2 separate regions of the Homo sapiens genome follow, and region 2 is linked to region 1. Evidence: promoter capture Hi-C in 16 types of primary human blood cells and fetal thymus (Javierre and others, 2016). All regions are on one chromosome and are shown on one strand. The core of a region is centred on a gene start or on the middle of the fragment in contact, and the rest is flanking DNA. Distances in the headings are between cores, read along the strand shown. Region 1 holds the start of SYCP3 (synaptonemal complex protein 3). Region 2 holds the start of LOC105369937 (a long non-coding RNA gene).

What was found. Contacts are between HindIII fragments. The CHiCAGO score rates a contact against its expected background, and 5 or more counts as called.
Region 2: a fragment that was not itself captured here is called in contact with the fragment with the promoter of SYCP3 in region 1 in 1 of 17 cell types (total B cells); the score reaches 7.4 in total B cells.

Annotation. Positions count from the first base shown.
Region 1 is chr12:101,736,548-101,741,325 of GRCh38, reverse strand. SYCP3 (synaptonemal complex protein 3) reads left to right here and starts at 1,864. Exons shown (of 9, transcript NM_001177949.2): 1 at 1,864-1,975; 2 at 3,374-3,523; 3 at 4,028-4,094; 4 at 4,255-4,289. The coding sequence starts at 3,391. The HindIII fragment of the contact is 5,223 bases long and covers 1-3,735 here.
Region 2 is chr12:101,649,889-101,654,666 of GRCh38, reverse strand. It overlaps MYBPC1 (myosin binding protein C1), which reads right to left. Exons shown (of 32, transcript NM_002465.4): 16 at 3,274-3,436; 17 at 1,883-1,989; 18 at 1,419-1,552. It overlaps LOC105369937 (a long non-coding RNA gene), which reads left to right and starts at 3,796. Exons shown (of 2, transcript NR_188371.1): 1 at 3,796-3,851. The HindIII fragment of the contact is 2,806 bases long and covers 1,487-4,292 here.

The DNA.
Region 1 (4,778 bases), core at 615-3,114:
TGGCAGGTACTGTACTAACGCTTTACAAACTTTTTTGAATCCTTTCAGTAATGAAAAATTTACAAGGTTCACTGTATCCTGTATCAACAGGTTTGATGTAGTGAATGGAATTACAGGAACAAGTCTGGGAGTCGTCATCCGTCATTCCTTACCCAATACACTGGTGTATTTAAACGAGCCAGTGGAATGCTGAGCATCATAAGGAAGAGGATTCAAAGCAAAACAGTAAACAGGAGGGTTCCTTTGAATCTCTTACTTGAACTAGGCAGTTGAAAAGTGATTGGCGTCAATAAGATCCTGAAGCCTTTGCCAAATATTAAAGAAGTAAAATATAGGCCAGGCAAGTTGGCTCATGCCTGTAATCCCAGCACTTTGGAAGGCCGAGGTGAGAGGATCATTTGAGCCTAGGAGTTTGAGAACAGCCTGGGCAACATAGTGAGACCCCATCTCGGCAAACTTTTTTTTTTTTTTTTTCTTAATTAGCCAGGCATGGTGGCACGTGCATGAGTCCCAGCTACGCAGGAGGCAGAGACAGGGGGATCATTTGGGCCCAGGAAATCAAGGCTGCAGTGAGCCGTGATCATGCCATGCCACTGCACTTCAGCCTTGGCAAGAGAGCAAAACCCTGTCTCAAAAAAAAAAAAAAAAAAAAAGTAAAATGTATGATTTCAAATAGAAAAAGGATTGCAGAGCTGTGAGCAAACTAAGGCAGGTACAAAGGTTGAAATATATTTTAAAATTATTTGGGGGAAAATACATATAAGCACAGAAAAAAGGATGAAAGGCAATAATACCCCCAATTTTAAACTGTATATTATTTCTGGGTAGTGGGATTATAGGTGAGTTTCATTTCCTTCATAAATTGTATCTTCAAAAATTGTTTTGCAATTGATAGGTGATTTCCAGTTACACCAAATAATTGTTTTACAATTATACTCCCACCCACTGAATGGGTTCCCTTTGTTACATAGATTCATCATCACTCCGTGTAGTCATATTTTGTAGTTTTGCCATTCTAGTGGACTGTCAGAACACTACATAGACTATGGGACAATTTTTTGTAATGCCAAACGCGAACGAAACTAAGCCGTGTTGTTTAACGACACATTTTCATGTGGTAATAAAACTTAGAAAATAAGGAAGGGTGAATGATTTACATAAATTTAGGATAATTTTCTTATATCCCTGAATGGGGAAGGGTGGGGTCCTGGTGAGGATCGGATGGAAAGGCCTGCCTGAGGAGATTCAGTGAATGTTGGTAAAGCCCTACTTCATAAATTAGGTGGTATGTTCATCATGTTTCATAATTTACATATTATTCCGCAATTTTCTTTTTTTTTTTCTTGACATGGAGTCTCACTCTGTTGCCCAGGCTGGAGTACAATGGCATGGTCTTGCTCACTGCAACCTCTGCCTCCCGGGTTCAAGCGATTCTCCTGCCTCAGCTTCCCAAGTAGCTGGGATTACAGGCGCCCGCCACCACGTCCGGCTAATTTTTGTATTTTTAGTAGAGATGGGTTTCGCCATGTTGGACAGGCTGGTCTGGAACTCCTGACCTCAAGTGATCCGTCTGCCTCGGCCTCCCAAAGTGCTGGGATTACAGGTGTGAGCCACTGCGCCTAGCTGCAATTTTCGATTATAAACATTTAAAACTTAAAAACTGGAAGGCACCAGGCCTCAAGTGTACTCGCAACCCGCTCCGGCGGCCAAAGCACCCTGGGCCAGCTATTTGGGCGCGCAATCGCCCCATGGGGGCGGAGCCTCGCCACCCAGTTCACGCCTGCGCTCTGCGTCCAGCCAATCAGCGACGTGTCCGGATGAGGCGGGACTGGCTTTTCTCCTGTGCGAATCCCAGCTTGCCTCAGAAGCGTCGCGGAGAAGGGGCCACCTCAGGTGAAGCGCGCTTGTGGAGGAGTTGTGGAGGACGCCTGTCGACGACCAGTAACTGGTCCTCGGCCATTGCGGTGTGTTTCAGGTGTGAGCAGGGGAGGCGTCTGTCTATCGCAGGTGTCCAGGCCAGAGGCTGCCCTTGACCAGTGAGGTAAATCTTACCTCCTGGCGTCGCCTGGGGCCTCTGACGAGAAAACGGAGGCCGCGAACCTGAGGACAGGGCCTTGAGCAGGATAGGGCCTAGTGGAAAGCGGGCGGGCTGGGCTGGGGCTGGGCCCCATCGCTACACCCTGGGACCACTTACAGGAGGGACGCGGCGGGGCCGGGCAGGGCCCTACCTCGCTCCGCGCGTCTCCCTCCTGCCCGCTCCACGCCGAGGGCGCCTTTCGTGGTTCCTCGATGTATTTGTTGTCGAAATCTTCTGCCTGTGTTCATTTTCCGAGACCTAAATTGCGGGACGTTTTTATTATTTGTCTTGATTATTATGAGCTTATTTCTGGCATCCTCATGTCGTGTCCCGCCAGCAACTATAATTTCCCCGCGTGACTGAGCGCCCTGCTAGAGTTGCCCAGATTTAGCCAGAATCTGGCAGAGGCGGCCCCAAAATTTGGAACTCCCAGGCCTCAGGGGCCACCTCTCCAGCACTGCGCGCTTGGAGTCGGGGTGGACACTGTCATTCTCTCTCATCGATTGATTGATTGAGACGAAGTCTCACTCTGTCGCCCAGGCTGGAGTGCAGTGGGGCCATCTCAGCTCACTGCAACCTCCGCCTCCCGGGTTGAAGCGATTCTTCTGCCTCAGCCTCCTGAGTAACTGAGATCATAGGCACCCGCCACCGCGCCCGGCTAATTTTGTATTTTTAGTAGAGACGGGGTTTCACCATGTTGGCCAGGCTGGTCTCAAACTCCTGACCTCAGGTGATCCACCCACCTCGGCCTCCCAAAGTGATGGGATTACAGGCATGAGCCACAGCGCCCGGCCATTTCTGTTGTTGTTTTTTTTTTTTGAGACGAAGTTTCACTCTTGTCACCCAGGCTGGAGTGCAGTGGCTGCGATCTTGGCTCACTGTGACCTCTGTCTCCCGGGTTCAAGCGATTCTCCTGCCTCAGCCTCCTGAGCAGCTGGGACTACAGGCACGTGCCACCACGCCCGGTTAATTTTGTTTTTTTTTTTCAGTAGAGACGGGGTTTCATCATGTTGGCCAGGCTGGTCTTGAACTCCTGACCTCAGGTGATCTGCCTGCCTCAACCTTCCAAAGTGCTGGGATTTCAGGCGTGAGCTACCGTGCTTGGCCTATTTATTTTATTATTTTTTAACAAATGTCATTATCTTCTTAACTTTTGGCCCCCCAAATAAATGAGGAAACTGTTAAAATTGTATTCAACAATCCTTGTTCGATATCTCCTTTGATATTTAAACTTTTACCAGTGTATTAAAATGATGTCTTTGCATTCAGAAGGTTAAAGAAATTTGTTTTTTAAAGTCAGGAAGCATCTAAATATGGTGTCCTCCGGAAAAAAGTATTCCAGGAAATCTGGGAAGCCGTCTGTGGAAGATCAGTTTACGAGAGCCTATGACTTTGAGACTGAAGATAAGAAAGATCTGAGTGGATCAGAGGAAGATGTTATTGAAGGTGCAGTACATCTCATGTTGGGCAGTGATGTCCTTCAGTTCATTTGTTTTGAACCCATTGAGACTATCGTACAACTTAGTTTGTAAAGCATTTTCAGGTATGGTCTTCCCTCCCCCGGTATTTGTGGTTACAGAACCTGCTGACACGGATGGCCAGCTGTACTTGTGTTTCTCATTTGATCCTTATATTGCAGTATCGGAGTTACAGAAGCTTATTCGGCAACTCTTGCTTTTGCAGTTATTTCCAAAATATCTGATATATAGTATGTGGCTTACTGTGACATTAACCCAGGGAGACTTGAAAAATTATTCCTATAAAATGGTCCTGAATCCTGATTTAATTTCACCTAACCTGCAGAGAATATTGCATTTTTATGTCTGCTTTGAAACTGTATGTTGGCAAAAAGCCTAAAAATCCCCAAATGAAGATGTTTCATTAAAATTTACCAAAATAACCTATTCAGTTTCAAAAGCTTTTTTTTTTTTTTTTTAATTGTCAATACAGGGAAGACTGCAGTCATTGAGAAACGTAGGAAGAAAAGGTCTTCTGCAGGAGTAGTTGAAGATATGGGGTAACGTGTTCAAAATAATTTTTGTTTCTTAGATAAAGCACTTCAAGAAAAGTTGCTAACAAATAATATATGTAAAATACTTGGCATCTGGTATTTCTTCCAAAACAAGCATGGTATGTTGTGGATCTTCTAAAGTGTTTAAAATGTAATTTCTTTCCAGGGGTGAAGTGCAGAATATGCTGGAAGGAGTTGGAGGTAGGTTTTAGGAGATACTTGTATTTAAAGAAAATTGTTTTAAGCCATATAATTTGTATAATAACAAATGTTAATAATGGACTATAAGACTGTTATTTAATGCCTTGTTCTCACATAGAAGATTCTGCATAAGTATTTGTGATTTAGCATCACAGATTTTCATAGTTAATCTTTTCCATGATGTTAAGAGTGAATGGTATTTTATACATATGTGAATTTAATGGACTATGGAATTTTAGAAGAAAAATGCACAGGAAAAGTCTTTACCCTTCTTTGTATTCACAGACTAAGTGATACACACACACACACACACACACACACACACACATATACATACATACATATATTTGTATATAAGTTTTTCATTTTTTCAGTTTAGTTATTTTCTGACTTCCTATGCTATTTTCTTTAGGGAGGACAGTGTAAATTAAGCCTCTAAAATAACTCTTTTTACATTAATAAACTATGTAGTTGATACTAAAGACAATT
Region 2 (4,778 bases), core at 1,640-4,139, 88 kb after region 1:
AAATGTGCACTGATCTTTGCTGAATACTTGAGCGTGTTCCTCTGCAGAGCTCCAGGGGGACTCTCTGTGCAGCTCTCTCCTCCAGTATGTATAGTATGTATCCTATGAACTCTAGCTGCCTTGGTCTCCTTGTACAATGGGAGTCCTAAACTTAGGGAGTCCACTGGGTTCTGTCCAGGTTTTTCTTCCTTGTGCCACTGCCTGGATACTCTTTTATGGCAATAAGCTTGAGGCAATTATAGGGCTTATTTCATTTGTTTATCATATTTCATAGTCATTGTCTTTCACGATCTGATGTCCAATGTCTTGAAACCCATTGTTCACATATTTTGTCTATTTTGGGGGTTATTTCAAGTGAGTAGGTAAATCTGGTTCCTGTTATTCAATTCTGGTTGAAAGTAGAAGTCTCATTCTGCTTTTTATTATTTAATTTTATTTTTAACATTAAAAAAATTTGTTTTGAGATAGAGTCTCACTCTGTCACCCAGCTGGAGTGCAGTGGCGTGATCTCGGCTCACTGCAACCTCTGCCTCCCGGGTTCCAGCAATTCTTGTGCCTCAGCCTCCTGAGTAGCTGGAATTAGAGGCATGCTGCCACCATATTTGGCTAATTTTTTTGTATTTTTAGTAGAGATGGGGTTTCTCCATGCAGGCTCAGGCTGGTCTGGAACTCCTGGCTTCAGGTGTTCTGCCTGCCCCAGCTCCCAAAGTGCTGGGATTACAGGCATGAGCCACCATGCCCAGCCTCATGTCTTCTTTTTAAATGTAATTTTTCTTTTTTTGCTTTTATTTTTGTAGAAAGCCACGGAGTCACACTTGAGCTGGCACTACTCTACCATTTCACCCTCACTTGCATTTCTCCCAATCATTCACTTTGCCCCAGCCATGCTGGCTTTCCTTCTGTTCCTCCAACACATCAGGCTTATTCTCTCCCCTTGGCCTTTGCACTTGTAATTGCCTCCGTATGGAAATGTCTTCCGTTTGATCTTCACATAATGGGTTCCTTGTTCTTCACAGAGGCTGCCATTGACTATGCAGTTACTTGCTATTGTATCATTCTCTTTTATTATCTTCTTGTACTTATTACTATCCAAAGTGACTTTGTTCATTTATTTATTTAATAATTCATTTTCTTTTTCATCCCCCCAATTTCATTAGAATAAAAATGAGGCTTTTTCACTGTGCATCAAAACATGCTTTGCTACATAATAGTCAGAAATATGAGAAGTAAATTAATGATGATCAGATTTGCCTGAAAATCAGTCATCTTTCTTTTTCAAAGGAATTACATCTTTACTGTACTGCTGTACATTTATTTGTTTTCTACCTTCATCTGAATAATGGAGGGCAAGGGGTGGGGTAGGCAGTGTGTCTGCATATGTGTGTGTGCATGTGAGTGTGTGCAAGCATAAAACAAACCTTATCTCCCCGGCTCCACATGGCTTTAGGAGGTGGTTCTCCGCTGATGGGGATCTCAAGACGAAGCTTGTTTCCTGCAATCACTGTCACTGTGTTGTCAGCATCAAGACCATCCAGGATGATCTTAGGAGGATCTAGAATATTAAGCATAGTCTTTGTTATCAGACAGTCATTTCTGTGTAAATATCTGCACTAATGTTTGGCTAGTATGATGGTAGTAACCAATATTTTATCTAATCAAAAAGAATATAAGAGGAGTCAAGATAGTTGGTGCCTGGCACCTTGCAAAACCATTTTATTGTAAGGTGTTGGTATAAGTCACCAATCTTTCTGATTGGTGATTAATACCAATTGATGTATTTTTCCTTAAATGTCACTTAGTTTTGAATATATTATAATTCCATGGTAAGCAAAAGCAAACAAAAAAGAACACAACTATGCAATGAATTATTTTATCTACTCACCAATAACATGAACTTTGGCAGGCAGAGTAACATTGTAGGCATCAGGTGCAAATACATAATCACCTTCATCTTCAGTGAGGGCATTGGCTATCACTAACTTGTGGATCCTAAGGAAACAAGGAAAATGTATTTCTAAGACTCCAAAGATCTAGTTTATATATGACCCAAGCTGAAAAGACACTTGACCTTTATCTGATTAACTTCTTTAGTGCAGGAAAGAGAGGGAGAGAGAGAGAGAAAGAGAGAGAGAGAGAGAGAGGATGAGAAGCCTTAATTATCCTACTTATTGATTCAAATTAAATCTTTATTTTGGACTATATGGAATTATCTCCACAAATAGAATCTGCTTATTGTATATGCAGAGTCTATTATTCTTTTTTTTCATCTCATAGCTTTAAAAAGGCTAAAATAGAACATATCAATAATGCTATACTTTAAGATTCAAGAGATGCCAAGAATAATCTTGATTTTGGCTTTACATCCCAAACCCTAAGAACAATAGCTCTTAACTTTATTGGGGTCACAAACTAGTGAATATCTGATGGACACTATGAATCCTTTCTGTGTAAACAGTATGTATTTTTGTACACATAGAATTTTCTCACAATTTCACAGGAGTTATGGGGCTTCCTAAAGTTCATTTATGATACCCTAAAAGCCCATGAATTCAAAGTTAAACTCTTGCCTTAGATCTTTGCCAGATTCTAGGATATTATGTCCCCTACGCAAATAAAGATTTGTGGGAAGGCATTGTGACACTTATTGGTTAGAGACGGTTAATCCATTTGATCAGGTCCTCAATTAGAATTCAGTATTTTTCCTCTAACTTCATGTTTATTATTTATTTTAGAGACAAGGTCTCTCATTCTGTTTCCCAGGCTGAAATGCAGTGGTGTGATCTCAGCTCACTTCAACCTCCCCCTACTGGGTTCAAGCCATCCTCCCACCTCCCAAGTAGTTGGGATTACAGGTGCATGCCACCACGCCTGGCTAATTTTTGTGTTTTTTGTAGAGATGAGGTTTTGCCATGTAGCCCAGGAGCTCTTGAACTCCTGAGCTCAATTGATCCGTCTGCCTTGGCGTCCCAAAGTGTTGGGATTACAGGCATGAGCCATGGTGCCTGGCCTCTAACTTCATGTTTAAATGGAAAAAGAGTCAATGGATTTTGAATAGACAAAGTACCATAGTGTGAGGTACAGATACAGGATTATGAGTAGGACATGCTATACAACAGAGAAATCACACCTTCTTGCTAGTTGGAAGCGAAGAATCAGGAATAGATGATCTCCCTATGGCTACCCTTCAAATATCCTCACCAAATATGTAATTTAGAAAATGGAGAAAGTAGAAATGGGACCAAACCTCACTTGCGGGTCACCTGGCTCGCTTACCTTCCCTTGTGAACCACCTTTAGACGGTCACTCTCCTGAACAGGTAGGCCATTTTTAGTCCATTTTCCTGGTATGTTTTCAGAGATTTCACACTTCAGGCAGATTTCTTTTCCAAGATTTACAGTCTGATCAGTCAGAGGTGTCAAAATCTTCAGAGGTTTCACTGTAGAAATGATAGACCATCACAAATGCCAAGCCCAAACTCCCAACAGGCCAAGATGGTGGCATTTCACAATGGTATAGTGAGCTCTACTACAATGTTTGTTTTGAAAGTGAGAAGCTGTACCAATGCAATTAATATATTAGAGGATAATTTCACATTTGATTCTGTACAATTTCATTCCTTAGAAAAACTAGGTGAATGCAGAAAATTGCATCCAGCTGAAATGACCCAGCAAGGAATGCACAAAATCTGCAGACTCACACCTCAAACATCTATCAGCTACCTCAGTTCATCCATGTGATATAAGCCACACCCATTTACATCTGAGGTCACAACTACTCATCAGATTTTGAATAATCCTCTTTCTACTGCTTCACAACAGTTCACAAGCCACAACACTTCCAGCATTAATTCTGTAAGCAAATCTCAGGTCTTTTTCAACATTAAGTGCCATATTTATTATATTTATTAACCATTTAGCATGTGTAAAACTGTGCTACTACTTTTTACTGGGTTCTTATATTTTAAAAAATATGTCGCTGACTGATGTGGTTTGGCTGTGCCCTCACCTAAATCTCATCTTGAATTGTAGTTCCTATAATCCTCACATGTCATGGGAGGGACGTGGTGGGAGGTAATTGAATCATGGGGGCGGTTACCCCCCTGCTGCTGTTCTCATGATAGTGACTGAGTTCTCATGAGATCTGACAGTTTTATAAGGGACTTTTGCCATTTTGCTTGGTACTTCTCCTTGCTGCCACCATGTGAAGAAGGACATATTTGCTTTCCCTTCTGCCATGATTGTAAGTTTCCTGAGGTCTCCCCAGCCATGCGGAACTGTGAGTCAACTGAAGCTTTTTCCTTTATAGATTACCCAGTCTTGGGTATGTCTTTATTAGCAGCATGAGAACGGACTAATAAACCAGCAAAATTCTTGAGTGTCATACCCATAATCCCATTTCCCCTACAAACCCTATGGTTTTTACTGCATGACTTTGCATAGCATAATTATTTTTAGAAATGCACATGTTACATCATAGCAGAATGGATTATAATTGCTTTAAATGGATACAAATATCAGATAAGGATCTGTCTATGGCTGAAAGACTTCTTGATGTTAAACTAAAATGGCCACAGATCCATAAAGCATAAGGAATGTATTGGGATTGATCCTGAATAATTCAATGATTATATGAACTGCAACTGGACTAAGCAATAAATGTGGAAGTAAGATTTCTGCTCTTTTTGTGACATCATCTTGAGATATTTGCTGTTTTAATTTTTATGGCAAATTGGGAGAGATTCTGCCATTGCTAACTGACTAGAAGTAGAGGGCATTGAG